Linked DNA regions of Homo sapiens: region 1 is linked to region 2. The links are contacts of gene promoters, found by promoter capture Hi-C in blood cells and fetal thymus (Javierre and others, 2016). All regions are on one chromosome and are shown on one strand. The core of a region is centred on a gene start or on the middle of the fragment in contact, and the rest is flanking DNA. Distances in the headings are between cores, read along the strand shown.

Region 1 (7,109 bases), core at 4,610-7,109, 290 kb after region 2:
GAGACCAAGATTGAAAAGAAAAGCAAACAAAACAAAAAGAGGGACTTGGGGATGCATCTAACATGTGCCTGGAACACAGCAGGTGCTCCACATGTGCCTGTAAAGCAGACACATGCCTGCTGTATGCCACCAGCACCAGGCATAGAGACCAACGTGCTCCAGATGAGGGAGACAGGTGAAAAGTCACGCCCCATTGAAGGAGGGGCACCTGGTGGTCCTGGGGGTGGGGTGGAGTGAGTTCCAGGAAGCTCCTGAAGGCCCCAGAGACTTGTACAGCATGCAGGGGCAATGAAGAGGGGCAAAGCCAGAGACGAAGGGGCCCCAGATCTTGAAGGGCCTTTGGGTGCAGGCTGGGGAATCGGGGCTTTGTTCAAGAGGAAGGCAAAGAGGCTTCTTGAAGGGGTTTGCTGAGAGAAGACTCCAGTCCTGGCCCCAGGAGCTTGAGAAGTGAAGCTGACTTTCCCGCCCTCCAGTCTACAGCATCCCAGATTCCTGGGATGCTCTGTCAACCTCCTTCTCCACCTCCATGGTCTCCAGGTCAAGGTCTCTCAGGGGTCCAGCCCCAAGGCAGGTATTAGGTCTGTGGCCTGGCACAGGTTGTCCCAGCAGTCAGTGGGCTGGGAATCTGCCCTGTCTGGACACTGGGGCCCTGGGGCTGGCCTGGCCTGCTCTGTGGAGCTTTCTTTCCTCCTAAGAGAGAAGATGGGGCTTGTCTGCCAGTAGCCGGGGTTCCCTGCCTTGCACGGGCCCCACCCTGCGTGGCCCTGCAGTTGTCTAAGTAGGGGGGACCCTGCCTCCCTGGCCCTTCTCCCCCTCACATCTGCCAAGAGATGATCCTGCTCCCTGTCTCCTGGCCCTCTTCCATCCTGGGATCCAAAAGCACCTTGCAATAAGGAAGTCTGCAGGGATGTTTGATGAAGTTTATATGAGGACTCTTTTTGTCTGGGCAGTAGCTTGAGAGAGGAGAGCCAAGCTTTGCTGGACATCTTCCCTGTGCCAGTGGTGTGTTGTGTTGGCTCACCCAGCATGTTTGCTCAGATACCACTGTACGTTGAAAATGTCACCTGCCCAACATCCAACTCCTGGTCTTCCCACTGAAACCACTACTCCCAGAATGCCTTGTCTCCTCCAGTGACTGTTCTATCTCTCCACTCCGGCTGCTTGGCGAAAACCCTGCTGCAGAGTCATGCTTGACTCTTTTCTCACCCACAACATACAATCCATCTGCAGAGCTCTTTGCCTCCACCTTCAAAATATAGCCCAAATCCAGCCACTTCTCACCATCTCCACTGCCCCCCGCTGGTCCCAGCCACCATCAAGCTCTCTCCCCTGGGCCTCAGCAGCAGCCTCCTGCCCGGGCTCCCTGCTCTCCCCTTGCTCCCCTTGTCTGTTCTCAACACAGCAGCGTGTTAAAGCCTCAGTGTGATCATGTCACTCATCCGTTCAAACCCTCCTTACCCCTCGAGGCCCAACACAGCTGCTCCGCACTCCCATCCAGCATCTTCTCCAGCCACATCATTGTCCTGCAGTGAACCAGACTTACTTCTGCCTCAGGACCTTTGCCCCTGCTGTTCCCTTGTTGACCTGCTTCTCCCAGACCCTGCATGACTGACCCCCTCACCTTACACCTACTCTGGATTTCTCCTGAGATGTCACCTGCTTCTTGGGGAGGCCTTCTTGACCACCCTACTTAAACTTGCAACTGCACTTCCCACACCTTCCCTCTTCCCTGCATGAATTCCCATCATTGCACTTGTCACCATCCATCATACTGTGTATTCATTCTGTCTATTGTCCGCACCCCCCTACCCCTGTTAGAAAGTATTAGGAAAGGAATTAATGTCTGTTTCATTCATCTGTGGATTCTCAGGGTCTACAACAGTGCCTGGCATGCAGCAGGTGTTCAATAATTGTTGAATGAATGAATGGAGCCAGGGGTGAGAGGGGTTTTATCACGTCATTGCGATTCCATAGCCTGCTAGTGGTAGCACCAAAGTTTGAAACTGAGTTTGTTTGGCACGCAGTTCAGAGTAGGAGAAAACAGTCAAGCCTGGGCCACAGGGAAGGGGCAAGGGCGGGGAGGGCTCCAGGTAGGAGAAGAAAGGAGCAATATGGTCACGTTTGTGCACTTGGCAACAACCAGGAAATTGCTGCGTGATTCTGGGCAAGCCATTTCCCCTCTTGGATGTTCAGCATCTTCACTGGGCAAGGGATGGGGATGGAGGCTGTGTGAGCGTCTTCCCCTGCTAACATTCTGGGAGGCCAGCCCTGCTCACTGGGGGCACAGTGGCCTCTGGCAAGTGCTGGCTTTCTTCCCAGCCTGGCTCCTCCTTCCTCCTTCTGTGCCACCCATGGCTCTGGCACCAGCAGGAGGTTCTGGGCCGGCTGCTGTGTCCCTGGGAAGAAGCAACTGGAGCTGGCTGAGCTTTATGACTTACCTGGGCAGGGAGGTGGGAGGGGAGGTTGGCTGGGGTCTGCCTGCCCACCCTGCAGCTCCTCAGTGGGACTCTGCTCCTTCAACTTCCTCCACCCCCCACTGCCGGGCCAGTATCCCTGGACACTCATCGCCCTCTTCCCCTGGCACCAATTGCACGGGGACAGCCCCAGATGGCTCCTTGGTCTGGGGACAAAGGCTGTGCTGTGCCTGGCCCCGGGCTGGCCTCAGGCTGGTCATACTGAGCCCTTCTGTCCCCACTTGGGGGTGAGGGGTAGATAGCACTAAGGTGACAGGCCTTTTTCCTGTCTCCCTTCCCCCTCGACCCCCAAATCTGAGGAGCTGACTCTCCCAAGGGAAAAATGACAGAGGCATCTTGTGTCTTGACCTAGGGAACAACAGACTATTCACTGCCCAGTCTGCCCTGTCACACCCAAGACCCTGCTGGGTTCAATGCCCTGGTTGTCCCCAGCAGAGAGAGACATCCACTCTGCTGTGGTCACCACCCCCACCGCCTGCTCCCCTGTCACCATCAGGAAGTCCACCCTACATCTGACCTCCATCCTTCCATCAGGAAGTCCATCCTACATCTGACCTCCATCCTTCCATCAGGAAATCCATCCTACATCTGACCCCCATCCCTTCTGCTGCTGTGACAGCCACTTCCTCTCAGGCTCCTGTCCTGCGGGTGGAGAACAGCTGGTCCCCATCGCCTGCACTGCTTGGCCCCACATTCCTGCTCCAGTCAGCTGCCTCTGGCCTCACCCTTCCTCCAGCTCCCAGCCCCACTGTCCTCCCCACCCCAGGCACAGGCTGGTGGCTCCTTGCTCCTCACTGAACCTTAGGGAGAGCAGGTGTGACTCAGGGCTGAATCTCTTTTGTCTTGCAGAAATGGGGGGCCTCCTTCCCGGAGGCTTTTAATGAGCTCCCCTCCCCTCACCCTACAAGCAAGAGCAAGGGTGTGAGATTTATGGTTGCTACTTGTAGATTCCTGAGCCGCAAATCCAACATGCCATCCCATAAATCCCAGACTGCAGGACGGTTTTATGGGGAAGCCCTGTTTTTAGAAAGGGGTGTGGCTGGTCTCCCTCCTGGCAGAGCTCAGACCTCAGGGAGCCAAGTGCCTGCCTCTCCCCACCCCCAGAGAACAACCATGACAAAGCACGGGGACATTGGGGACATCAGTTGGTGTGGTGGAGATGCACTGGCTTCCAGGACAGAGAGACTTCCTCTCCTGTGGGGGGCCTCCTGCTTCCCTTCCCTGCTCTGAGGATCCCCCGTCTCAGCACAGGAGGGTGGCCTGGAAGCCTGGGCAGATAATTGTCCCTGACCTGGACCTTAGATGTTTTCCTGGTCACCGCTCCAGGTGTACATCATTGGAGATGTTTTTTCAAATGCATTTTCCCAGGCACCATTCTCAGAACCTCAGTTCCAGAATCTCAGGGTGAGACCTAGGAATCTGAATTTTTTTACAATGCTCCCTGGTGATTCTGATGTTCAGCTATCTTTGAAAATAATTGGCTGAGTGCTGTGGCTCATGCCTGTAATCCCAGCACTTTGGGAGGCCGAGGAGGGGCAGATCACTTGAGGTCAGGAGTTCGAGACCAGCCTGGCCAACATGGCGAAATCCTGTCTCTACTGAAAACACAAAAATTAGCCGGGTGTGGTGGCGCGGGCCTGTAATCCCAGCTACTCAGGAGGCTGAGGCATGAGAATCGCTTGAGCCCGGAAGGTGGAGGTTGCAGTGAGCCAAGATCACGCCACTGCACTCCAGCTTGGGTGATAGAGCACGACTCTATCTCAAAAAAAAAAAAAAGAAAAAAGGAAAAAAGAAAATAATTGATCTTTACAAGGAGCCATCTCCACTCTCCTATCTTGCTCGGAAATGGGAGTCACCAGGTAGGTGTGTCTGGGTCCTCTTGTCACTGGGACCCACACCCCCTGCCACCATCATGAAGCCTCCAGATTAGATCTCTGTGGCCTGAATGCTATACACAAGTGTGAGGCATGGTGGCTGCCCTCTGGAAGCTTCCTGTCTGCAAGAGTCCTGCAGACAGCAGGCCTGAGACATTGCACAGAGCCACGGAGGAGCGGCTGAAGATGACTGACAGGAAGGAGTTTAGGGATGGGGAGTCAGGAAAGTCCAAGGCTGGTGGGCTCTGCCAAGGAAGCCAGAGGAAGCGCTTTCAGCTACCTTCTCATCAAAGGAGGCATCACCAGCCCCTGAGTTTCTTGAGAATGGGGACCACCCTTTACTTGCCTCTGAAACCCTCATGCCTGGCACAATGCTGGCGCATAGTAGGTGCTCAGTTTTTTGGTTTGTTTGTTTTTTAAGACAGAGTCTTGCTCTGTCGCCCAGGCAGGAGTGCAATGGCGCAATCTCCACTCACTGCAACCTCCGCCTCCAGGGTTCAAGCAATCCTCCTGCTTCAGCCTCCCAAGTAACTGGGATCACAGGTGCACACCACCATGCCCAGCTAATTTTTTTGTATTTTTAGTAGAGACAGGGTTTCGCCATGTTGGCCAGGCTGGTCTCAAACTCCTGACCTCAAGTAATGCACCTGCCTCAGCCTCCCAAAGTGCTGGGATTACAGGCATGAGCCACCATGCCCGGCCAGTTCATTTGTTCAGTGGAACTGAGTGAGACTTCAGGGCCCACTGACAGAGATGGGCCTGCCTAGCACTGCAGACCCGAGGCCTCCACTCTGAAAGGTGCCAGCCCGCTAAAGGAATGAAGGAGAGCTTGTTCATACCCAGCCATGAGGATCAGGGCAGCTGGAGGGCCACCACTGAGCTGTGTTTGGGGGCAGCCAGGAGCATGCGCTGCCAGACAGAGGACCCTTTCCAGGCTGGCTGAGGACAGAAGGATGTGATCATTAAGCAAAGCCAACATGTTACTGACCCATAATCCCTTAAACCAGGAGGATTCGGGAAGGGCCTGGTCGCCTTGGCAACTAGGTGCTGGCCAGTCGCAGGGCTGAGAGCATCCTCCAGGAGTGGGCTGTGCCTGGTGCTGGTGCATGGGTAACAGCTGGGAGCGGGTGCAGGGCGGCCCATCATAGGGCTCACCCCCTGGTGCCTTCTTGCCAGCATGGGTGGAAGCCCTTGTGAGGCCTCAAGGGCAGTGTGTGCAGAGCAGGATGAGAGGGGGGCTGCACTGAGCGTGTAGGAAACCATGAAGGGAAGTGGAGGGGAGGTGAGACAGCGCTGCTCTGGGTTTTCAGGGCAGGAGGGAGAAGGGAGGGTCTGCAGGAAGAAGCAGTTGCATGGGTCTCATTGGGTGGCCAGCAGGGCATCCTCTAATTCAGAGGGCACGAGGAGCTGGGTAGCCTGAAGAAGAAAGCTTTCATGGTTGGGGACAGGACCGTGGGGGTGGGCAGAGCAGCTTACCCCGCTCCTCCATGGTGTTCTCGGTAGGGGATACCTGCCTGCTTGGAGGGCTCTGGCATGGGAAGAGGCCTGCAGGGATCAAGCCTCATCTTCCCTAGGGCTCGACTCTATTAATGGCAAGCTTCCGTGTTTCCCCTGAGACCTTCCACTGCTCCTGACCTCCTGTATTTCAGCTGGAGAGAAGGTGCAGCTGGCCAGCTCTGATGCACTCTTCCCTTCCTCCTCTTTTTCCCCTCTTGCCTCCTGGGGCATGCCAGAGCAGAGACCTTCAGGTGTCAGTATCAGAGGTGAAATGAGGTTTGGACCCAATCATGTCCCAAGGGTGTTGGCCAAGCTGACATTCAGTTTACGGGCCTTGGTCAGTAAGATTTATTGGCTGTTGACACATTCAGGCCCTTGGACACAAGTTGGTAAATTTCTGCTGGTCCAAGGACTGCCTGGTTCTGGCACCCTCCCTGCCACCCCAGCCCTTCCCCCAGAACTCTCTAGACCTCCAGCAGCTAAAGGGCTTAGGTCTGGGGGGCCTTCAGGATCCTCTTTGCACATCATGCCTGCTATTATGACCAATACTTTGCTGGACTAGGTGGTCCATAGAGAACTGCACAGGGCGTGGCGGGGCGGGCGGTGGGCAGTGGAGGCAGTGCTGAGGGTCACTGGGAGGAAGAAGGTGACTGGGAAGAAGAGGGTGAACACCCACCCTCAGAGGGGTCAAACTTTGCAGAAGACACAACCCTGGCTCCCAGTGATGGTGGCATACAGGGCGACAGAGCTTGATGAGAGAGCTGAATTCCCAGTGGGTGGAGACCTGGACTGGTTGCCTTGTTCTTTTCAACTGCTCTTCTCACACTTCCCATCTCAGGACCCGGCTGCCCAGTCCCTCATGATCATGAACAAGATGAAGAACTTTAAGCGCCGTTTCTCCCTGTCAGTGCCCCGCACTGAGACCATTGAAGAATCCTTGGCTGAATTCACGGAGCAATTCAACCAGCTCCACAACCGGCGGAATGAGAGTGAGGGGTCTGGGCCCACCCAGCACCTCTCCCACCTACCAGACACTCCCCAGTCACCTTCCCCTCCCCGCCCACCCCCTCCCCACTGGCCTTAGGGGAGGAGCACAGCGCTGGGGGAGGGGGGCTACCCTTCTCTCCCTCAGGACAGAGAGGCAGGGAGGGGAGCTGACGCCTGTCCCTCTTAGACTTGCAGCTCGGTCCTCTTGGCAGAGACCCCCCGCAGGAGTGCAGCACCTTCTCCCCAACAGACAGCGGGGAGGAGCCGGGGCAGCTCT
Region 2 (6,406 bases), core at 32-2,531:
AGTGAACGGAGATCACGCCATTACACTCCAGCCTAGGCGACACAGCAGGACTCTGTCTCAAAAAAAAAAAAAAAAAAAGAACAGTTATTTTTAAACCAAATGACTAAAGGCTTCCTTATTCCAGCCAGGTTAACTGAGTGATGTCCACCAGGGAAAACAAATCTGGCTGTAAGGACATGAGCCCCCTCCCAAGCCCTCCCTAAGCCATTTGTGAAGACATCACATACATTCTGGCTCCTTGGTCTGTGTTCATCTCCTTCCAAGCCAACTCAATCTTGGCGGTTACTAAGATAATAGAGTGAGAAGAGGGTTTAAACTGCAGCAGGAGAAATCTGAGTTAGACACAAGAAAAGGCTGTTGGAGCATTTGAAATCTTTGTGAAAGGTTATGTCTTTGGAAAAGGTAGTCATCTAAGGATTAAAATCACCTTTGTAAGATGGATTTGTAGAGACTTGGATAGTGGCTGCTCAGAAAATAAATGAACAAATAATTTACCTAGCTGTCTTCCATGTTGGTGTTGAGGCCTCTGCCAGGTAATGTTAGGGACACAGAGATGTAGGAGCTGTAGCTCCTGCTGTCCAGTCACTCATATTGTCATCAAGGGTTCCATCCGTCAGCAGGTGAGAAGTTGGATAACAGTCAGACAAAGCACTAGAAGCGATGTCACAAGGCAGTACACGATTAATTGCAAAATGAGTGGTGCAGATAATGAGCGCTTATGTGTTCAGAGCAGGGCGAGATCGCTGCAGACTGGTGTGATCAGAGAGGGCTTTATGGAGTGGCGAGGTGGTGAAGGATGGGTAGGATGCAAAGAGGCAGAGAGAGGGCACGCCATGCTGGGAACTTTAATAAAAGTCTTCTATGTTGGTGTGTGCTGAATCAGTTCTGCCTAAAGACATGGTGGATGAGGTGACCTTTTCCCACTTGCTTTGGCTCCAGGCTGAATTCTCTAAGCAATAAAGGAAAGAGGAATCAAAATAAAATTGAGAATGGGGGAATTTTTTGCCCGTGTGCCCATGAGTTGAGTTTTTTTTTTAAAATTTCATCTGTGAGGCTGGGGAATAAATAAATGATTCCAAAAATCTTTCATCACTGGGTTTCCAGTAGAAACTCCAAGTGGGCCTGAACAGTTGCAGCTGCCTACTGTACACCACTGTGATCATCAGCGCCAAACCTGGGGTAATGGTTCCTCTCCTGCTCCCACTCAGGCTCCCCACCCAGAGCTTCTTAAGGGCAATTGGAGACTTCTTCAATCCACTTTGGATCCTAAGAGTAGAACTCTGTGGGTTTTTACAGTGATTAGTTCTCTAATGCTGGCCCTGTTTCCATAGAGACCCTATAAATAGAGGAATGTTGGCGACCTAGGCTGGCAAAGGCTCAGGGTGACCCAGTCACCCCACTGAACCCTCACAGCCAAACTGTTGGTAGGGCGGAAGGAGTTTCAAACCCAGGTAGGAGGAAGGGCTATGCAGTCAGCTGCCAGGTGGGATAATTAGCTATAGATTAGTGTGACTTTAAGCTTTCCTGGGATTTGTTGAGAACACACGTACCTGTAAAAATTAGAAACCACTTTTGGTCATTTTTAACCAGATGGTGCCAATGACACTGTACCCCAAGGCATTTTAGTTTTGTATTCATGCAGCTGTGTTTGCAGATTTTGGAGCAAACTTCCCCTTTGGGGGACCCACACCCAGGGAGAAAGACGGATGAAGCCCAACTGTTCAGAAACCACAGCCTTCTCAGGAAGGATCTTTCAGAAGCCATCTAGTCCTCCCTTTTTTCCTGAAAGGACAGTGCCACCCAAGGAGATGGGGCTCTTCCTGCCCTTTCAGATAGTTCCAGGGGAGGGACAGCCAACTCCCCTCACTTCCTTCCCCGGGGCACCTCACCCTGGGAGGCTCTCCTTTCTGACTACCTTATGGCCAGTTCTGGGGACGGCACTTCTTGCTTCGGTCTTACAGATCATGAAAGCCCTGTTTGTTTGCCACCTCTAACTCTGAAGCATCTCAGCTCTCTAATGCATGGCTTCATTTGGCCACCAAAATGGTTTCTGGCAGCCAGGGAAAAGCAAAAGTCAATGTGGAAAAGCAAGTGACATTTTAGGAGCTGGAACCTGTTAGTCAGAGCAGGTGGTGCTTTCTGCTGCGTTGGCGGCTAAGTTCCCTTAAGCTAGTCACCATGGTTTTCCTCACTTCTGAAACTTGTAGCTGGTTATGTGTATGTGCTGAGTTTTTTTTTTTTAAAACACTTACTGTGTTATGTCAAAACTCCTTAACCATCTCCTCCCTGACACCCACATGCAGAAGCGGCCCAGCCCTTGCGTCACTTTGCTGTTCCCGCCTCGCACCTTATCAGTGAGGAAAAACCCCTTCATTTGGAGTAATCTCCTCTCTCTGCACCTTGTTCTTTGACTTCCTTTTTGTTATTTCCCTCCTGCCTGCCTCAGACTTTAATAGATTCCTCGGTCTGCTGGGACAAAGGTCCTGGGGTCTCCTGGTCACTTTCCCTAGGTTTCCTTCAGCTGCAGGACAGCTCAGGGAGGTGGGAAGTAAAGACTTTATAGTTGAGGGTCTTGTCCCATAACATGGGATGGGCAGGTCACAACAGCAGTTCAGGGGACCTAACAACCCTTGACCCAGGCATTTTTGTTTGGCGCCTGCCTCTGATACTATTCTGGGACACATGCAAATACCCTATCTACTTTAAATCTTAAGTCTTGAAATCAGTGTATGGGCCCATGAAGGTAAATTCAATTAGAAGTCGGGGGTTTCTCTGTGTGGCTTGGATGAGCCACTTAGCTATGCTGTGCCTCCGTTTCTTCATCTGCAAAATAGACACTGATGCTGTGACATCTCACATTCCTAGCTCCTGAGATTAGGCTAGTGTCAGATTATAATGACAGTATAAATCGGAACGCACTTTGCAAAATGCTGTTGTATAAATTTTAAAAGTAAATTGACCAAGGATTTTAGGCTCCAAGGCAATATGGCAGACATCGGTGGCCACCGTAGCTCTCCCCAGCACCTCCACCAGCCTCCCGGGGATAGGGGAGAGGAAATGCCTCAGAACTCTAGGACCTCTGCTGAAGTCTTTAGAAGGGAAACTCTTTCTGCCTGAGTGGATCCTCAGTGTTGGAGAAGCCAGTTTAGGAATGGGGGGAGAAGAGGAAGGGACCTGGAATAGAACGCTAGAAAGACAATTCGTATTATGGAATGTGACGATTTGGCAGAGGCAGCTGGGCAAATGCCAGAGCCAGCTGGCCCCATCACAGTGTCTGGAGGGAGGTCTCACATCAGCTTGGGCCTGGGGAAGGGGGAGGTGTCCTGGCAGGTCCCTGGTCTGAAGGCTGCAGGATCTGGCCTGTTCCAAGTCCATGGCAGAGTTGACATCTTGGTTCTCCCCAGCACAGATTCAGGTGAGCCTTGTGACCCTGCCTCAAGCTGGCCCCCAGGGGATGGTAACTCCTGTGGGAAAAGCTGGCATTGTGTAACTTAAGATCTCGAGGGCTGCCCCAGAATTCAGTTCTTGAGAAGGAATCATGGTAGCCTTAATTTCCTCTTCTCTAAATGGAGATGTTTCCGTTGTTGCTTTTGTTACTATTTAGGAGAATCAATGGGATAATGCAGGATACAAATCTCCTTTGAAATGAAAAACCGTTAGTTCGTGATGAGTTGTGATGATGTAATTTATCTGGTCTGTAAAATGGGTGATGTAAGGGCCTCATCTACTTTAAGGATTCTGGGGATACTCAAATGAGGTGAAAAATGAAAATCCTAAAATTTTACACAAATACATAATAGTACAGTTATTGTATCCAGCTGTAAGCGCAGCCATCTGCACAAACTCAAGGCTGAGTTGTAAAGTAACCTAAGAGTGGGGTCAGCTCATTTAGAGGATGTCAGGTTGCTTTTTCTTGGTTTCTATATGGTCTAGATTTTCTGCTCTGTAAGTTTGTTTCTAGGGAAAAAAAAAAAGAAAATCCAGTCTGTGTAATTTTTTGGAACATTTTTTAAATGACTGAGGCAGCCTGGTAAGATTGTGGGTTGTTCCTCACAGGAAATCCTGCTATGGCTCATTGAGTCCCAAATGGCTGGGCCCTGAGTTTTCCTCTAAGGAGCTGCAGAATGTGAGGTGTCTCCTGGTCCTCCAAGTCTCACCCCTCCTTCCAACAGCTCCAAAGCTCTCATAGAGGGCTCAACCTGGCCGGATAAGCCGTCCCCTGACAGAAGCAGCTGTCTGGAATTATACCACAGTTGCTCGCCCTGGCAGGCCATCCAGCTGCCCCTCTGTGAGCAGTCTTGCCGGAAGAGCAGCTGGAGAATCTCAGCAACAGGGCTAAGAGGAAAGGCTGTGGCCTGGGCGGCACCGGGTTGCAGTGCCTCTATGCTTTGGATCTAAGGGGAAAGACACTCATTTGGATAGCTTGTTCTGATGTGTATGCTAAAGAATTGGTCACATTACTATGTCACAAGGTTTGCTCATAGAAGTAAAGTTTATTTCATTGCCAACCATATCAGGAATGAAATTGGTTGCAAATAACAGAAAATCATACTAGAGTTGTGTAGACAAAGATGGGTTTATTTCATGCAACAAGAATCCCAGGATAGATGTTCACAACTGGTTTGGTGGCTCCATAGACCTTCAAGTTCCCAGGCCTGTCCCTTGGGCTCCACCATCTGTGTGCAGACCCTCATCGTCAACCATGTCATCTTGTGGTTGCAGAATGGCCACTGCATCTCCAGGCACTACGTTCCCATTCCAGATGGGAAGATTTGGGAAGGGCCAGTGCCTTTATCAGGAAAGCAAAAGTGCTCCCAGAAGCTCTCACCTTGCTTTTCGTTGGCCCAAACTGTGTCATGTGGCTACTCCTAGCTGCAAGGGGAGTCTGATGAAGCAGGAATTTTTAGCAAGGTGAGTTAAGTCCTTGCAGTTTGGTTGGTAAGAAAGAAAAATAGATATTGGGTAGGCAATTAGCAGTGTCTGCTACAACAGTATAACTTGATTGTATGACCCTGATTTTACTGGGGGAATGTTGGAATTAGGCAACTTTGGAAATCGATGCTTGGTGGCCTGAAAGAACTAGTACAGCTTGAAGGGTCGTCTAACTTGGAAGGAGGGAAGGACTGGGGGTGGGGATCAATCTAGAGGGATACAACCCCATGAGCCAAGTGCTACCTGTGTATGCCATTAAGCCCCAGACTGAAGCCCTGAGAGCATCATTCCTAGAAACTCTGAACCTTCATTTTGATTAGGAATGTCCCGTGGAAAACCGTGGGGGCACACTTCTTTCGGAATGAAAGGATGGGTCTGGGTTGCCACCTTTTCGCAAACTGACCCTTTATGCACGACGGGCCATCCACAGAGATCTTCCAGGTTCAGATGGCTGCATTAGCTATGCCAGTCTACCAAGGACAGACCCTTCACCTTCACCCTCCTACTGACTAGGCAATCAAGAGCTTTCCACTCACCAGGGTTCTTCATCTCTCCCCCTTAAGAAAATCCAGCAGCTGTCAGAGGGCTCCATGTTTGGCCACGGTCTGAAGCACCTGTTCCACAGCCGCCGTCGGTCTCGGGAAAGGGAGCACCAGACGTCTCAGGATTCCCAGCAGCATCAGCAGCAGCAGGGTATGTCCGACCATGACTCCCCAGATGAGAAGGAGCGCTCTCCGGAGATGCATCGCGTCTCCTACGCCATGTCCCTGCACGACCTGCCCGCCCGGCCCACCGCCTTCAACCGCGTGCTGCAGCAGATCCGCTCCCGGCCCTCCATCAAGCGGGGCGCCAGCCTGCACAGCAGCAGTGGGGGCGGCAGCAGCGGGAGCAGCAGCCGGCGCACCAAGAGTAGCTCCCTGGAGCCCCAGCGTGGCAGCCCTCACCTGCTGCGCAAGGCCCCCCAGGACAGCAGCCTGGCCGCCATCCTGCACCAGCACCAGTGCCGTCCCCGCTCTTCCTCCACCACCGACACTGCTCTGCTGCTGGCCGACGGCAGCAACGTGTACCTCCTGGCTGAGGAGGCCGAAGGCATCGGGGACAAGGTGAGATGGGCCTTCTGGGGCAGGGGGAGACTCAGAGGCAAGGGCCATCCGCTGAGGGGCCTTGAGACCTGGGGAGCTGAGCCAGGGGCCCTCCCTGGCAGATACTGACACCCCACCGTCTGCAGAGTTATCTACCTTGGTTAAAGGAGTCGGGTATGACTAGGCCAAAAACAAGAGATGATTCCCAGGATGGCTAATTTTTGTTTCCTTAGGGCTGTTTTTCAAAATTGTGTTTTGCTCATGCTGATATTAATGTTGACTTGTTTTCCTTAAATGGGCTATCAAGAGGCAATAGGTATAGTAGTTTAAAGCACAGACTGGAAGCAACTCTGGTTCTGCCACTTACTCAGTTAACCTCTTTGTGCTTGTTT

The links. The method cuts DNA at HindIII sites, captures the fragments that hold promoters and counts their contacts. A CHiCAGO score of 5 or more calls a contact.
Region 1: a contact is called between a fragment that was not itself captured here and the fragment with the promoter of TMCC2-AS1 in region 2, in 2 of 17 cell types (naive B cells and total B cells). The highest score is 7.0, in naive B cells.

The regions. Positions count from the first base shown.
Region 1 is chr1:205,516,464-205,523,572 of GRCh38, forward strand. It overlaps CDK18 (cyclin dependent kinase 18), which reads left to right. Exons shown (of 16, transcript NM_212502.3): 2 at 6,684-6,834; 3 at 7,020-7,109. The coding sequence starts at 6,705. Among named protein-coding and RNA genes, the nearest start is that of CDK18, 15 kb to the left of the region's middle. RefSeq lists enhancers at 1,048-1,747, 4,963-5,788. The HindIII fragment of the contact is 168 bases long and covers 5,776-5,943 here.
Region 2 is chr1:205,236,010-205,242,415 of GRCh38, forward strand. TMCC2-AS1 (TMCC2 antisense RNA 1) reads right to left here and starts at 1,282. Exons shown (of 3, transcript NR_183258.1): 1 at 1,175-1,282; 2 at 496-949. It overlaps TMCC2 (transmembrane and coiled-coil domain family 2), which reads left to right. Exons shown (of 5, transcript NM_014858.4): 2 at 5,496-6,035. The HindIII fragment of the contact is 7,142 bases long and covers 1-1,517 here.